Linked DNA regions of Homo sapiens: all the other regions are linked to region 3. Evidence: promoter capture Hi-C in 16 types of primary human blood cells and fetal thymus (Javierre and others, 2016). All regions are on one chromosome and are shown on one strand. Each heading gives the region's core, a stretch centred on a gene start or on the middle of the fragment in contact. The rest is flanking DNA. Distances are from core to core; before and after follow the strand shown.

The links. Contacts are between HindIII fragments. The CHiCAGO score rates a contact against its expected background, and 5 or more counts as called.
Region 1: a fragment that was not itself captured here is called in contact with the fragment with the promoter of HTRA4 in region 3 in 2 of 17 cell types (monocytes and total CD8 T cells); the score reaches 6.4 in monocytes.
Region 2: a fragment that was not itself captured here is called in contact with the fragment with the promoter of HTRA4 in region 3 in 9 of 17 cell types (total CD8 T cells, non-activated CD4 T cells, naive CD8 T cells and 6 more); the score reaches 8.4 in total CD8 T cells.
Region 4: a contact is called between a fragment that was not itself captured here and the fragment with the promoter of HTRA4 in region 3, in 8 of 17 cell types (total CD8 T cells, total CD4 T cells, naive CD8 T cells and 5 more). The highest score is 8.3, in total CD8 T cells.

What each region holds. Positions count from the first base shown.
Region 1 is chr8:38,777,787-38,781,722 of GRCh38, reverse strand. It overlaps a transcript of TACC1 not described here. Among named protein-coding and RNA genes, the nearest start is that of TACC1, 7.5 kb to the left of the region's middle. The HindIII fragment of the contact is 1,490 bases long and covers 1,662-3,151 here.
Region 2 is chr8:38,797,473-38,801,489 of GRCh38, reverse strand. The region is part of intron 2 of TACC1 (transforming acidic coiled-coil containing protein 1); the gene reads right to left. Among named protein-coding and RNA genes, the nearest start is that of TACC1, 12 kb to the right of the region's middle. RefSeq lists enhancers at 3,607-3,766, 3,837-3,976. The HindIII fragment of the contact is 2,900 bases long and covers 1,196-4,017 here.
Region 3 is chr8:38,972,009-38,976,306 of GRCh38, reverse strand. HTRA4 (HtrA serine peptidase 4) reads right to left here and starts at 2,079. Exons shown (of 9, transcript NM_153692.4): 1 at 1,578-2,079; 2 at 1,177-1,276. The coding sequence starts at 2,043. PLEKHA2 (pleckstrin homology domain containing A2) reads right to left here. Exons shown (of 12, transcript NM_021623.2): 12 at 2,395-4,298. RefSeq lists an enhancer at 1,443-1,502 and a silencer at 1,683-1,912. The HindIII fragment of the contact is 7,181 bases long and covers 1-4,298 here.
Region 4 is chr8:38,817,860-38,821,853 of GRCh38, reverse strand. It overlaps TACC1 (transforming acidic coiled-coil containing protein 1), which reads right to left. Exons shown (of 13, transcript NM_006283.3): 3 at 1,219-2,332. Among named protein-coding and RNA genes, the nearest start is that of TACC1, 33 kb to the right of the region's middle. The HindIII fragment of the contact is 2,107 bases long and covers 1,655-3,761 here.

The DNA.
Region 1 (3,936 bases), core at 1,157-3,656, 190 kb after region 3:
AGGCTGAAGGAATTCAGGACATTTAAGTAGAATAATATTCCTGGCCAGGCGCAGTGGCTCACATCAGTAATCCCAACACTTTGGGAGGCCGAGGCAGGTGGATCACCTGAGGTCAGGAGTTCGAGACCAGCCTGGCCAACACGGCGAAACCCCGTCTCTACTAAAGATACAAAAATTAGCTGGGCATGTGGCACGCACCTGTCATCCTAGCTACTCAGACGGCTGACACAAGAGAATCGCTTGAACCCAGGAGGCAGAAGTTGCAGTGAGCCAGGATTGCATCACTGCACTCCAGCCTGGGGGACAGAACAAGTCTCCGCCTCAAAAAAAAAAAAAAAGAAGAATATTTCTTCTCCTACAGCCATTTTATTCCTTCTTCTTTTCCCCACCTCCAAAATAAAATAAATGTCCTAAACAATGCATCCTTATGGATTAGTAGAACATTAATCATATAGCCCAAATGTTTTGAGATCACCCTAATATAAAATATTCTACTCACTATCCTCATAAATATATTGTGAATCTTCAGGAGACCATACGTCTTCTTGTCACTAAGAAGTTACAAGGTAACAGATTGGGATGGTGGTTGGAAGGGGCAGTGAAAGGCAAAAGCAGATTCACTGCTAGGAGGATGTGGGGAGAAAAGGTCCACCCAGAAGAAAAGAATAAAATCACAAAAAGCTTTCAAAAATAACTGTGACACCAACTCCAACTTAATTCCTTAGTCTAGGGATTTGGGGGAATTTCATTACAGTAACTCATGTGTTTGTGACCAATAATCTTCCTGTATTTCTAAGAAATAAAAAGATGGGAAAATAAGCAGCCAACTCTGTGACATGATACACAGCATCCTGTAAACTCCAGCTTTTATCTCTTTGGAGTAAAATTTTGATTACTGTATTTTGGTCCTGAAACTCCAAGTTGGTAAAACACTGTTGCTAAGATGGCAATACCACCCAGTTAACTTACAGGGCTAATTTGATTTCAATCAAAATTCCGAGGGGATTTTTCTTAGAATTCGTCAATAATGTTTAAAAGTTTATCTGGAAAAATAAACTGGTGAACATATTTTAGATTTTGTAAAAAAAAAACAAAAAAAAACAACACCAACAAGAAGAGTGAAGAATAGACTAGTCCTACAAGACATTGAGACACATTTATGCAAAAATAGCCAGATCTTTGTTCTGTAACACAGAACAGAAAGCCCAGGAAAAGATCTTACAAGATACAGGAATTTATTATATACCAAAAAAGATGGCTTGAACCCGGGAGGCGGAGGTTGCAGTGAGCCAAGATCGTGCCACTGCACTCCAGCCTGGGCAACAGAGCGAGACTCTATCTCAAAAAAAAAGAACAAACAACAAAAATATAAAGAACATGTTACAATATGTAAGGAGAAGGAAGATTTATGATTGGAGCATAGTTGGCTGGCAATGGGAAAAAAGATCAAGTTAAACCCTTACCTCAGAGCATATACCAGGATAAATTCCAGATGGATTAGATGACTAAATAATAAAAATCGAACCATTGGGAGAAAACAGTCTACAAGCAACAGAATCTATCAGAGCTCTGTAGGAAGGATGAGGATCCAACTTACAAGTAATTAATGAAATCAGACACAAAATAAAGATAGATTTGGTTACATTTAAAAAAATGAAGCTTCTGACTGTGTGCCTTCAAGTTAAAAGGCAAACAACAGGCCATGGAAAAACAAAGGCTGTTAGTATTGTTATTACCTAAGGAACTCGTGAAAACAAGTAAGATCATTTAAGCCCCAAAAGAAAAGTGAACAATTATAACTGCTTACTATGTGTTAGACACTACACTTTACATGAATCGTCTCATTTAATCTCCCCCACTTACTCCTACAATCTCAGGAGGAAAGTATTGTTACGGCCTTTTTGTTGTTGTTAACAAGTTAACTTGGCTGCATTTCACCCTCTACAGCAGAGGCTTAGCAAGGAAGGGTTTCAGAAGGTCCTGGCCTCCCTGAAATTGTATGCAAAAAGTATGTGTGTGTGCATATTTGCATCAGTCTCTCCCTCTCCTCTTCCCCACATACAGTCAAGCCCCACTCCAGGAATAATGTTTTAGGTTGACTAAAGATTGATTTTCGAATCTGAAAGGGAACTAATATAAAATTCTTCAGTATAAGGAAGTACTGGCCAAAAAAGCCCTTATACGGAAAATCCAGACCTGCCAGAAGTTAGTGTAGAAAACAGCCAGCTTTGAAGACACCCGGAGGGTGGAAAAGGGCGGAGAGCAGGCCTAGCAGTGCTCACCACTCCAGGCAGGGTGTGCCCTTCCCCAAATGCCCAGTGGGAGCCCATGTTACTGGGCAGCCTGTGGGTTTCATCTAAGTGACTGTGTGGTGACCAAAGTGTGAAATGCTCATTTCAAGAAGGCATTTGCCAGTTGAGCCAAAGTACCATAAAAAAAGAGCATTTCAGCCAGGCATAGTGGCATCTTCCTATAATCCCAGCACTTTTGGAGGCTGAGGCAGGAGGATAACTTGAGCCCAGGACTTTGAGACCAGCCTGAGCAACATAGCAAAACCCCATCTCTATAAAAAAATTAAAAAGTAGCCAGGCGTGGTGGTGTTCGCCTGTAGTCCCAGCTAATCTTGAGCCCAGGAGGATCGCTTGAGCCCAGAAGGTCAAGGCTGAAGTAAGCCGTGATTGTGGCATTGCATTCCAGATTGGGTGACAGAGCGAGACCTTGTCTAAAAAGAAAAGAAAAAAAAAAAAAAAACCCAAGGACCCCTACTGATACAAATGAGAATCCTCAAAGGCACAAAAAATTGGGCCAGAGCATAAAAGGCATACTTTATGTGGGAGGTGCAAAAGGATTAATTTTAACATCTCTTTCTTTGGGATGCTCTTTCGCTATACTTCCTTTTAGGGTGGTTTCTTCCAAGAAACTATGTTGATGAGGGAAATGACACCCAGGAGCCTCTCCCCATCTGGGAAAAAGTAGCAAGGCTCAGCAAAGAAAGGAGGCATCAAACAGGTTGCCAAGGCCTGATTTTGTGAAGCAGGAAGCCTAAAAACTGGGGAAGCACTCTTTAAGAAAAATGCTAAAGGACCCCATGAACACAGTGCTAGGGCCACACTAGTATGAAGGGGCCCATGCAAGGGAGGGGACTGAAGCTTAGGCTTCCTCAGCTTCATAGTAAATTCAGCTCTGCCCAGAGAACAAAAGAGATTCCTGCCTGTGGCTCAGGAGTGGTTCAGCTGGCCTCAACTCAGTAAGTGAAATGTCCATTTATGGAGCGAGGGGGTCACACTGACCTCTGTCTTCTTAGAGGAAACAAAAATATTTAACTGTTGGAAACTGGATAAAACTGTCAAAAGATATCTCCTACACAGATTGTGAAACATAATTCATGGCTCTGTTCCTTCTGTACCCATTGTAAACACACACATACACACACACACACACACACACAATTTTAATTATTAAGATAAAAAAGCAAAAGGCCAGGTGTGGTGGCTCATGATTGTAATCCCAACACTTTGGGAGACGAAGGCAGGAGGATCGCTTGAGCCCAGGAGTTTGAGACCAGCCTGGACCACACAGTGAGAGCCCATCTCTACACACATGCACACACACAAAGATAAAAAAGAAAAACTATAATGCTTCTTTAACATTGTGTGTCTATGCACCTCTACTCTTTGAATTTCCACAAGATCACCATGGTAGAGCCTAATTCCCTCACCCCACATCCTGTATCCATCTGTATCCATCATTTCCTTATTTCTTCTAGCAAAAGAACCCTCTGAATTTTTGCTGAGCACATGGTCACACAGCAAGAGGCCACGTTTCCTTCTCTACAACTAGGTGTGGCCTGTGACTCAGTTCTCACCCATGGGATGTGAGCACAAGGGGTAAGTGCAAATTTGGGGCAGTGTCTTTTTTTTCTCTTTTAGAGACAGA
Region 2 (4,017 bases), core at 1,396-3,895, 180 kb after region 3:
TTGTATAGGGAAAAGAATAGTCTTTTTGACAAATGGTGCTGGGACAACTGGATATCCACATGCAAAAGAATGAAGCTAGACTACTCCCTTACACCATATGCAGAAACTGACTCAAAATGGATCACAAATCTAAATGTAAGAGCTCAAACTATAAAACTGTTAAGACAAAGAAGTAAATCTTTGTGATTGTGGGTTAGGCAAAATCTTCTTATACATGACATCAAGGCATAAGAGACAAAACAAGTAAACTGAACGTTATCAAAATTAAGAACTTTTGCACTTCAAATGACACCATCAAGAAATGAAAAGACAATGGAAGAAAATATTTAGTCACATATCTAATAAGGAATTTGCATCTAGAATATATAACTTAGTGATAAAAAAGATAAATAACCTAATTAAAAAGTGGGGAAAGAATCTGAATAGACATTTCTCTAAAGAATATATACAAATACCCAATAGCTACATGAAAAGTTGCTCAATATCATCAGCCATTAGGGAAATGCAAATGAAAACCAAATGCAAATCAAAACTACTCCACACCTACTGGCATGGCTATAACCAAACAGACAGACAATAAGAAGTGTTGGAGAGGATATGGAGAAATTGAAACGCTCAAATACTACTGGCAGAAATGTAAAATAGTGCAGCCAGTTTGAAAAAGTTTGGCAGTACCTCAAAATGTTTGACATGAAGTTACCATATGGCCTAGCAATTCTACTCCTAGTTATATACCCGAGAAATGAAAACATAAATCCATGATGTGAATGTTCATAGCAGCATTATTCATCATAGCCAAAAGTGTAAATAACCCAAATGTCCGTCAACCAATAAACGGGTAAATAAAATATAGTATATCAATAAAATGGGGTATTGTTCAACAATAAAAAAGGAATAAAGTCCCGATACTTGCTACAACATAGCTGAACCTTGAAAACATGGTTAGTGAACTGATTCAGTCATACAAGACTACATATTCTACTACTCCACTTACATGAAACGTTTAGATAATCAAATCTATTGAGACACAAACTAGATCATCAGTTACCTAGGACTGGTGGTGGGAAGGAAGAGGAATGGAGTGTGACACCTAATGGGTATAGGGTTTCCTTTGGGGGTGATAAAATGTTCTAAAAATTAAATTGAGATAATAGTTGTACAACTCTGTCGATAAATTAAAAACTATCATAAAGCTTTTAAATGGTGAATTGTATGGCAGGTAAACTATATCTCAATAAAACTATTTTTAAAAAAGAACATGGAGGCTCAGACCCGAGGGAAATGGAGCAGGAGGAATGTCCTGTGATTTCTAGTAAAATGTTCAACTATACCACACAGATTTGCTCTGTTGTCCAGGCTGGAGTACAGTGGGGCGATTACGGCTCACTGGAGCCTCAACCTCCCAAGCTCAAGTGATCCTCCCACCTTAGCCTTCTGAGCAGCTGGGACTAAAGGCACAAGCCATCATGCCCTGCTAATTTTTTGTTTGTTTGTTTTTGGTAGAGTCGGGGTCTCATTTTGTTGCCCAGGCTGGTCTCAAGCAATCCTCCTGCTTTGGCCTCCCAAAGTGCTGGGATTACAGGAGTGAGCCAGCACACACATCCAAAGTACATGCTTTAAATAGTGTCTTATGTGTGTCACTTGGAGAGACACATGCTTGAGAGAGGTGGTAGGTCTCACCATCCCATCAATTTGGGGTTTTAAATTTCTCTTGAGGAAGCCCACATGTGCTACATAAATTCTATTTACAGAAAGAGGTGAAAAAAATGACATCATCCCTCTTTTCCACAACAGATGTAGCCAAGTATGGTATATGAAACATCCTAGAGTTATAATTGTCAAGCCCAAAAGGCTTTTTTTACTTTGTGGGCAGGGGGATTTTTAAAATTCTAACTTTTAACATTTGCCTTCTTCCTTTTAACATTTGACCTCCAGATTTGCGGGGGAATTTCTTCCCTCACAAATTCCCTATCTTTTGCTGCTAAAACTTCTTGGGATGCCAAGGCGGCCAAGAGGTCTGGGAAACAGGACAGGGCTAGCTCCCTCCAGACTCGGAGCCCCACAGGGGCCTTACTCTTTGTATCCCTGGGAGCAGAAACTGAGCGTCCAAGACAGAGCTGATGCTCAATCAGTGCCCACTGCAGGGCAAGTGTCTGATACATAAAGGACTCCTCCTCACCTCATCTGTCGCATACTGAGAAGGCCTAGCTAATTGTTCAGTGATGCCGCAGCTCAGCTCTAGGCTAACGGCTGGGGGATGGCTTGGCATAGCTCTTCCCTTGGCCCTTTGCCCTGAAGGTCCCACTCCTCCTTTCCGTGCCTTGGTCTTGCCCTCCCAGCTCTCCTCCCCCACACTGAATCAAGGGCTTCAGGAGGGAAACAAGCGTGATTCTGGCACCAACCCTTTCTGCTCAAGTGGTCTGCCCTGAGGAGACTGTTAATCAGATGTATATTAGCATTAATGCTAAAAGTCCAAAATTTGAGTGTTTTTTTCCCCCAGTTTCATGTCTTTGGGTTCCCAGTCTCTCTGATTCCTCCAAAGTTGAAGTGTATTTTATATATGTTCGTTCTCACTTAGTCATCAGCCTTAAAATGGAGAAGTACACAATTTATTGTCCAGGGTTGGAACAACCGTACAATAGGCCCTTTTCCAGGAATGCGGGATACAATCTAAGGGTATGGGCTGCATAGCTCACATTTCCCCAACAACTGCTGGGGCCCAGGATCCCCGGAAGCATGGGAGAGGGGTGGGTCAGCGGGATTCTGAGTGGGTGAGTCAAGGCAGACCATCCTCTTAGGTACATCATAGTTTTAAGCTGTCTCACCAACCAAAGCAGAAAAATACACATACACACACACACACACACACACACACACACACACGCAGAACCCAGACAACAAACTACCTGTTTAAACCCCTTCCTAACCTCCAAAAAACCCCCAAACAAAAACATTACCCAGAAGTCACGGTAGGGCAAATTTCATTGCTTTTTTAAGAGACAGGGCACCAGCTACACTGCTGTTCTCCTGAGATAAGCCTCTAACTCCTGAGAGAGGCTCCCCCTAAAACCTAAGACTCTACAGGTAAAGAATAATCTGGAAAACCACTTGGTAAACTGAAAAAAGTTTGTACTAAGGATGAAGAAAGCACTTCAAATTTCCAAAACAGCACTTTATGCTATTTTATTTAAAAAGACACCCAAGCCAGGTGTAGTGGTACACGCCTGTAGTCCCAGCTACTCGGAAGGCTGAGTCAGGAGGATCCCTTAAGACTGGGAGTTGAGGCTGCAGTGAGCTATGATTGTACCACCACACTCCAGCCTGGGCAACACAGCAAGACCCTGTCTCTAAAAAAAAAAAAGGAAGAAAAATAAAAAGAGACCCAAACCGTATCTCTAAAGGCCAAGATTATAAGGTAAGAGGATGGGACTTGCTTATCAGGAAGTGTCCACCCACCAGGAAGCCAAAGCCTCCTCCAGAGAAGCCAATCCAGCAATGAATGTGTCTTCTCTTCTCACTCATGAGATGCCCATGGGTTCTGGAACCATCTGGATTTGTTTGAGGTTATATTTTAGACAGAGTAGAAATCCCCTTCCACAGACAGAAATCATAGAAGGCCCTCCCCACAAAACTTCTCCCCCATCCCCAACCTATTCTGGCAGGAAGAGCAAGGGGGGAAAGAGCACGTGCTAACAGATGGGGCTCCTGTGCAGAGATCTGGGATTGTGTAACTTCAATCTGTTGCTGCCAAACAACCATAATGTGCATCTCTTCAGAAATAATTACTGGAAAATTCAAAATACCAACTGCCTCTCTCACAAAGTAGCAACCACCCACATGGAGCTGAGAAGCTGATGCTGGATAAAGAAGAAGAGGGAGGAATGTTCAGCAAGAGAGGGGCCTCCAGACAGAGCAATCTCAGCCAGCATGCTGGGTGCATGAGACACATCCATGGCAGGACCACAAGCCAATAGGCGGCTATATAATTTCTTCAGCCAGTTCTGCTCCTGTTTAAGA
Region 3 (4,298 bases), core at 830-3,329:
CCAAGTAGCTGGGATAACAGGCATGCACCACCACGCCTGGCTAATTTTTGTATTTTTAGTGGAGATGGGGTTTCACCATGTTGGCCAGGCTGCTCTCGAACGCCTGACCTCAGGTGATCCACCCGCCTCGGCCTCCCAAAGTGCTGGGATTACAGGCATGAGCCACCGTACCCAGCCTTCCTTCAGTTTTCTCAGACATTTCACTTTTCCCTGGCTATGCGTAAATTTTCTCCATGTATCAGTGGACTTGGCAGGTACAGGGCCCCAGCCATCTCTTGTGAGCATGGTTGAGAGTGGGGTCCAGCTCTCCTTTTCCAGGGACACTGCTTCTTCAGAGCTGGTTAGTGTAGCAGCCCATGGGTTCTCTGCTGCGAAAAGACTGAACCCAATCCTAATACTAGAGGCAAAAGTCAGCCTCTTACCACAGTATCAAGGACCCAGGCAGGAGAGAATCAAAGGGCTCTGATTCTGGCTTAGTTTCCACCGCCAACTGGCCTCGTAACATAGTAACATAGGACAAATTAACCCTGCTCTCTGGGTCTGGATTTCCTTGTATCCAAAGTGGGGGCTGAGCAAGATCACAACCAAAATGCCTACTAAGCTGGATGTGGTGGCTACACCCGTAATCCCAGCACGTCGGGAGGCTAAGGTGGCAGATCGTTTGGGCCCAGGAGTTCGAGACCAGCCTGAGCAATATAACAAGACCTCGTCTCTACAAAAAAATACAAATATTAGCTGGGTATGGTGGCACCTGCCTATAGTCCCAGTTACTCCAGAGGCTGGGTTGGGAGGATTACTTGAGCCCAGCAGATGGAGCTGCAGTGAGCCGTGATCTGTCACTGCATTTCAGCCCTGGCGACAGAGCAAGACCTTGTCTCAAAAAAAGAAAAGAAATTGCCTACTAGCTCTTATATCTGACCTTAAATTTTGTCTGTGGCAGGAGGGGGAAAAAGCACCAGCCACCTAAGTGGGCAGGGGGAGCTGGGATTTAGAAGTCAGCATCCTTGTGCCTCTGCTCTTTGGTTAAATGACCTTGAACAGGTTATTCAACCTCTTTACGTCTCAGTTTCCTCACTGGTTTTTTAGGATTAAATGACGCTTGCGAAGGGTCTGGAGCAGGTAGGCACGCAGAAACCATTAGCTGGGACAGTGGAGGTCTTCCTCCTCCTCCTTTACCTGCCCCACAGCTGCACGTGAACCACCGATGGCGCCACCTTCTCCACCACCGCGGCGATGAAGTTGTAATTCCTCCTGAGCGGGCCTGCGCTTCTGGTCCCTATGAAAAAATACTGGCTCAAGAGTACGCCTCGAGGGAACCAGACCTGCTATCCTAGTTGGAAAAATGTTAAAGGCAAGACAGTGTTCAAAAGGTGCATGGGGAGGGAGAAACCACGTAGCAGCCGGTAAAGAGCCCCTGTTAAGGAGGAAAGGAAATCAGGAACACAGAGGTGTCGAATCCAGGAGGCAAATGACGCAGGAGGACCAGGCGCGAACTGTGCGGTCTCAGTGAGGTCTTGTTCCTTTACGCTCCTCCAGAGTTAGAAAGTGTTCCGAGGGCGCGCGCCCCCGCGGCTCACCTGTATCCCCGCAGTTCCCCCACTGCACAGGCACGGCCGGGACCTTGCCCAGGCGGCGCGCGGCGCGGTTTTCGGCCCGGAGCGCGCACATGCTGGGGTAGGTGCGCCTGTCGCTGCCGCACACGGCCCCTCCCAGCGTCGGGCAACCGCAGGTGCTGGGGAACCCGGGGCGCAGCGGCTGGAGGCACTGCAGCCCCGGGGCGCACGGTTGGCCCTGCGCCCCGCCGCAGACTTCACGCTCGGCCGCGGGGCAGACGCGGCAACAGCGGCACAGGTCGAACACCGGCGTGGTCCCCAGCGCGCAGGTGGGCAGCGCGGGGCAGCGCGTGGGCTGGCAGACCGCGGGGCAGGAGGGCTGGGTATGTAGCTTTTCAGCCCCGGCCCAGAGGACGGGCACCAGGAGCAGCAGCAGCCCCGGCAGGAGGCATCGTCCCAGCCCCGCGGTCCGCAGCTGAGGTCTAATCATCCTGTTCCTTCCTCGCTTCCACTCTTCAGTGACTTTACTCTGGACCTGCAAACCCTCCTAAATGAGAGACACTTTCTCCCGGCCACGGCGCCGCCTCCGCCGGCCCCCAAACTTTAAGGGGCAGAGCCTGGCATACCTCTGCATATACACACCCGTACATCCCCTACCACCCGCCCCCGTCGGCGCCCCGGAGCCAGGTTCTCCCCCAGGCAATGAGGGGAAGGTCTCTAGCCCTACCCGGAGCAGGAACCTACCTCCTGAAATCCCTAAAACCGACAATGAGGGCAGACTGATAAGAAAGCTCACCCACCCATGGTCAGAAGGTCAGTATTAGGAAAACACATGACCATATTTCAGTATTTCACATGGTTTTATTACAAAACAAGCCACAAAACAGTTTTAGAAAATTTTTGCTACATACCAATTAGGAGATCACATAAAATGAGAAGCGTAACAGTTTCCATGCACTCAGCCTAGAGCTTACAGCGAGTGCATTTCACAGCTGAAACATCACTGCTTTAAAACACAGAATCATGCTACCCCTTCATAAGCAGAGGGGGAGGAGGTCAAACAGTATGTTTTTGCCAAACGTTTGCTTTATCTGAACTCTATCTAGTATGAAGGACTGGCTGCCGCAGGCAATAACACAGAGAGGAAAAGGAACAAAGGAAGAAAAGGGTGCTGGCAGACAAGATTTAACAAACCTGTCCACTTCCGACATTTTGAAAGTTTATAAACAAAGCTCACTTGGGGACACTCAATTTCCAAAATGCTGTGACCTCCACATGTTATCTAATTTATACTGAAAACAAACCTACTAAACTCCACTCCTCAACTACTGAACCTGCTATTTATTCATGGGGTCTTTTTAGCCCATATAAGAGTATATTTATATTCAGAAATATAAAAGAAAAAAAATTTGCTTCAAGTAGACTAAGAAGCTGGACCTTAAAACTACTTTCTTTCTCGTGGGAGCTGAGTATTCAACTCAGAAATAGATGTATAACTCCAATATTCTGACCTGACATCAATCTCCATAATGTATACCTCAATACCCTTATGATGTCTCACTTAACACTAAAGGCCAAATTATTTTTACCAACCATCAGCTGACATTGAGTAAGCAAGTCTTTTGAAGATTTCAAAAGTAATAGATGGTGGCCAGGCGTGGTGGCTCACACCTATAATCTGAGTACTTTGGGAGGCTGTGAGGCAGGAAGATCACTTGAGCCCAGGAGGTCCAGGCTGCAGTGAGCCATGATCAGGCCACTGCACTCCAGCCTGGGTGACAGAGTGAAACACTGTTTCTAAAAATAAAAATTAAAGAATAATGGATGGCATTATTCAGCCATGGGGAGGACCACCTGAAATACTGTTACACACAGTGGGTCAAGACCACTTCAAAAGCCTTATGAAAATAGCACAACTCAGGCAAGGCTTTTATTCCACAAAGAAAATGCAGTACATTTTTTAGTTCCTTTAAAAAAAAAAAAACTCAGATTTACTCCAGAGCCTATGCACTTAGTCACTAATCTATACTGCATCCCCAACCTATTTTTTCCATTTGGTTCAATTTTATACATTTAAAACTAACTGCTTTGGTCAAATACGTACCATCTTTGGTTCACATTAAAAGATTATGGTCCAAAACTGGCCAGAAGTTAAGAAATATCAACAAAATAGGAAGTTTGAAATACAATTTAGGAATGGAATGCTTTTAGAGCTTGTTTCATTGAAGATAATAATTTATCTCATATTGAACTACATTAACGATGTTCTGGCTAGGTGCAGTGGCTCACACCTGTAATCCCAACACTTTAGGAGGCCAAGGCAGGAGGATCACTTGGGCCAGGAGTTTGAGAGAGCCTGGGCAACATAGCCAGGCTCTGTAGATAAAAAAAAATTAAAAATTAGCCAGGCGTGGTAGCACAACCCTGTAGTCCTAGCTACTTGGGAAGCTAACATGGGAGGATTGCTTAAGCCCAGAGATTCAAAGTTATGATGAACTATGATCACACCACTGCACTCTAGCCTGGGTAAGAGAGTGAGACCCTGTCTTTTAAAAATTAAAAAAAAAAAATTAAAAACAAGCAATGCTCTAATGTGGAATTCCCAAGTGTTTGCCAATTGACAAGAAGATTTCCATTTGACAGTCTTAGTGTCCTCGTTTCCCTTTATCAGGATAATACCATATGGATTCTATGTATGTTTAATTTGTCACATTCTCAAAAGAGATCTTGCTGAATAAGAAACAA
Region 4 (3,994 bases), core at 1,459-3,958, 160 kb after region 3:
CACCACCTAGGTTTGAGTAAGTTCACTTGACGATGTTCACACAACAAAATCACCTAAGGATGCATTTCCCTGTGGCTTACCCTGTGGCTAAGTGATGTATGATTGTATTATCATCTACTCAAGTTTTGTGATAAAGTAATCCTGTAGCAAAGTTAAACTGAAACTTGATATGGAATAGGACCTTAGGTAATTACACTGAAAACACCAAGGACCTTGCAAAAGTCAGATAATTTCCCAGGAGAGATGGGGGATTGACTAAACCAACTAATTTACTCAGTTTTAACTGATCATTTAAAATATTCTTGATTCTTATTGAAATTTTACCTCCTGGCTGATGAGCCAGAAATTACACATGGAGACAAGAATTCTCATCAATTTTAGTGGTAGGTTTGTTTCCCACAAAAATCACAGCTTTCTGTTTATGTAAAAAGTCTTCTTTCTACAAGACCCTTTTGGATCATTTCCCACGTTATTGACGCTACAGAGGTAAGTTACAGGACTGGAATTTCTGTTTTATCCATAGAGTATGAAGACGGTGGCCAGCAGTGACATTTGAATTGTCTATAACACGACTCCTAACAGTCCAGCCAGGATTTCTGAAAACCATCAAATCTCTACCTGTCTATCTCATGCCATTCTTTTTTTTTTTTTGAGATGGAGTCTTGCTGTCACCCAGGCTGGAGAGCAGCGGCGTGATCTCGGCTCACTGCAACCTCTGCCTCCTGGGTTCAAGCAATTCTCATGTCTCAGCCTCCCGGGTGGCTGGGACTACAGGTGTGCACCACCACGCCCAGCTAATTTTTGCATTTTTAGTAGAGACAGGTTTCACCATGTTGGTCAGACTGGTCTCAAACTCTGGACCTCAAGTGATCCACCTGCCTCGGCCTCCCAAAGTGCTGGGATTACAGGTGTGAGCCACCGTGACTGGTCTATTTTTTTTAAACATAAAAAAGTCTCTAGGGTCAAGGGAAAAGAGCTTAGCTGATTAAGCTAAGGATTCAGAAAAAAGACAACAATCTGAAAAGGAAACCTCTGGTATTTCTGATTCCACACAACAGTTAAGCCAAACAGTGAAGACTGCAGGATAACATTATAAGCTTTGTATGAACCTCGGTGCACCTCAAAGGTAAATTCAGTTCACCAAAGCCAAAAGTAGCTGGCTGCCAAACTCAACAGACAAGACACAGAGCACGACACCCAGCGCCCACTGTCACTCACGTTATTAAACGCGACTTTGCCTTCTTGGGTGATTCTAAGATTTCATTAACGTGATTACCAGTGGGAGAACAAAAGTCACTGCTTGTTAAGGTCGTAGTTGGTTTAAAGGGATCCATGGATTCGTCAAAGTTATCTGGGTCAAAGTGGTAGGAGCCCTCAGAAGAGAGGGGTGGGGAGTTCTGCAGAACAGAGTGGCTCCCAAAGGGGTTGAAGCTGGGGCTTTCCCACTGACTAGGATCTGGCTTGGAAGATGTTTGGGAGAGAGGCCCGTCTCGTGCCACTGGGTCTGTAGGCTGTTCTAAACCTGCTGACTTACTGATGCCATCTTTTTGTATCTTGGGAGTCAGTGTGCTACCCAGTTTCCTGCCAAGCTTCCTTGGAAGGGCTTTCCTGGCCTCTATGTTTCCTGTATCTTCTGTGAAATCAAACTCAAGCTTGAGAGGTGAGCTCCTCGACTCCTCCCCCAGCTCAACCCCTGAGTCGTTGGTGTCACTACTGAGAGTGCCGGGAGTTTCTTTAAGGTCAGGGGGAGACTTCTGGAACCTGGCATCTCCTAGCAAAGGACTTGTGTTCTCATCCAACTCTTCAGGACTGAAGTGATAGGATGCCTTGGGGAGAGGTGTGCCCTCCACAGCAGCGTTGGTGTCTGAGAACTCTCCTCCAATTGCTTTCTTCCTCAGGGGGACAGGCTTGGGCTTTCTCAGCTTGCTTCTTCTGCTGGGCACAAGCTCTGGACAGGAGTTGCCAGCTTTTAGATCAGCTTCTGCGGAGGCCTCGAGGGTGACCCCCATGCTGCCTTCTGTCATCGCCTCGTCCTGGAGGGCGTCTGGCGGGCTGGAAGGCAGAGCCTTGCCTGAGACTGCAGTTACACAGCCATGAGCTGCTTTTGTTCCGAGGACTGCCGAGATATCCGTGGAATCCTTCGTTTCTATTGAAAATGGCCTCACGATGGAAATTTTGCTAAAATCATGTTCAGGTTCTTCTCTGAAATTCTTGACTGAGTGAGAGTCAATGGCCTGCTGTGGCACTTCATTTTCTGAAGGTTTAGAACAAGTCTTAGATGAACATTTTTCAACCACTTCTGCTACAAGCTGTTCATCAGCTTCTTGTGATTCTAAAATGAAACACAAAAACCATCTATTAAAGAATTATCTGTCACTGGTAAGTATCCTCTCTTACCTGAATTCATATAAACAAATAGCAAGTTCTTCCCTCTTTGCTTTTATTAAGCATCTCTAAAGTTCAGGAAGGATGGCAGCACAGCCTGAAAGAGAAGAGCTGGCACAACACCCTAAAATGAATTTTCCTATCCCAAGTTGTGTATGTGCATTATCCAAGTGATACGAATAGTAAGTACACCAAAAGAGCTATTTAGAAAAAGGATAAATAGAGCAAGAGTCTGCTGCAATGTATTATTATGTGATGTTAACATTCTGTAGGGTAAAACTGGTCTGGAGGAGTATTTAGAAACCAACAGCTATGGTGCAGGGAGGCAGATTGGTGCTGAGACAGTTCCTAAGCACAGCCTGACAGCTTCAGGGTCAGAACTTTATGCAGTGAACAGATCTGAATCTTTGAATGTTAAAAACATAAGTATCTTGGGAGGCCAAGACGGGCACATCATGAGGTCAAGAGATTGAGACCATCCTGGCCAACATGGTGAAACCCCATCTCTACTAAAAATACAAAAATTAGCTAGACATGGTGGCACACGCCTGTAGTCCCAGTCACTCAGGAGGCTGAGGCAGGAGAATCACTTGAACCCGGGAGATGGAGGCTGCAGTGAGCCGAGATTGCGCCACTGCATTCCAGCCTAGACTCTGTCTCAAAGAAAAAAAAAAGAAGAAAAAAAAAAAGCCATGTATCCACAGAACAGAATTTAAAAAGACTGTTTCAAAAATAAATTTAAAAAATCTACTGTGACCAGCTCAGAATCATCTCTCTGTAGACCTAAAAACTAAAAGAACCAAATAAGAAAGCTAATTTGAAAAACCAGATATGGAAATGGCTTTAAAACAAATAGCCCTTATTTTACTAAGACACAAATTGTAAAACAATAAAGTTATTTTTTCTTTAGAACCTCTGTCTCTAAGTCGGACCAGGAATTCTCTAAATCACTTGTGAAAAATAAAAATCCTTTTTAATTGTGGTCTTACTAGGATAAGTGCTGCAAATATTAGGAAGGTGTGAATGAGGTAATTTCGTTAAAGCAAAAAGTGATTTCCTAACGTAGATATCTGAAACAAGAGTAGCACAGAAAAACTCAGTGAATTGGTTATAATATCTCATGATTTTAAAGGAAATTAAAAGATGACCCTCTAATCCTACTTCCTAATCCTAATCCAGGATCAGAGTCAAGTACCACTGGAATATCATAGCTATAGTTTTTATTTTTGTTTTTCTTGACACAGTGTCTCTGTTACCCAGGCTGGAGTGCAGTGGCCTGATCATGGCTCACTGCAGCCTTGACTTCCCCAGGCTCAAGTGATCCTCCCACCTCAGCCTCCCAAGTAACCGGGACCACAGTCATGAGCCACTAAGCTTGGCTAATTTTTATTTTAATTTATTTTTTATGTAGAGACAGGACAGCCAAGTTGCCCAGGCTGGTCTCACTGGGCTCAAGCAATCTGCCTGCCTTGGTCTCCCAAAGCACTGGGGTCACAGGTATAAGCCACTGCGTCCAGCCTGTTTTTTTTTTTTTTTTTTTTTTTTTTTTAGGGGTCTCTCACTCTGTTGCCCAGGCTGGAGTGCAGTGGTGTGATCACAGCTCACTGCA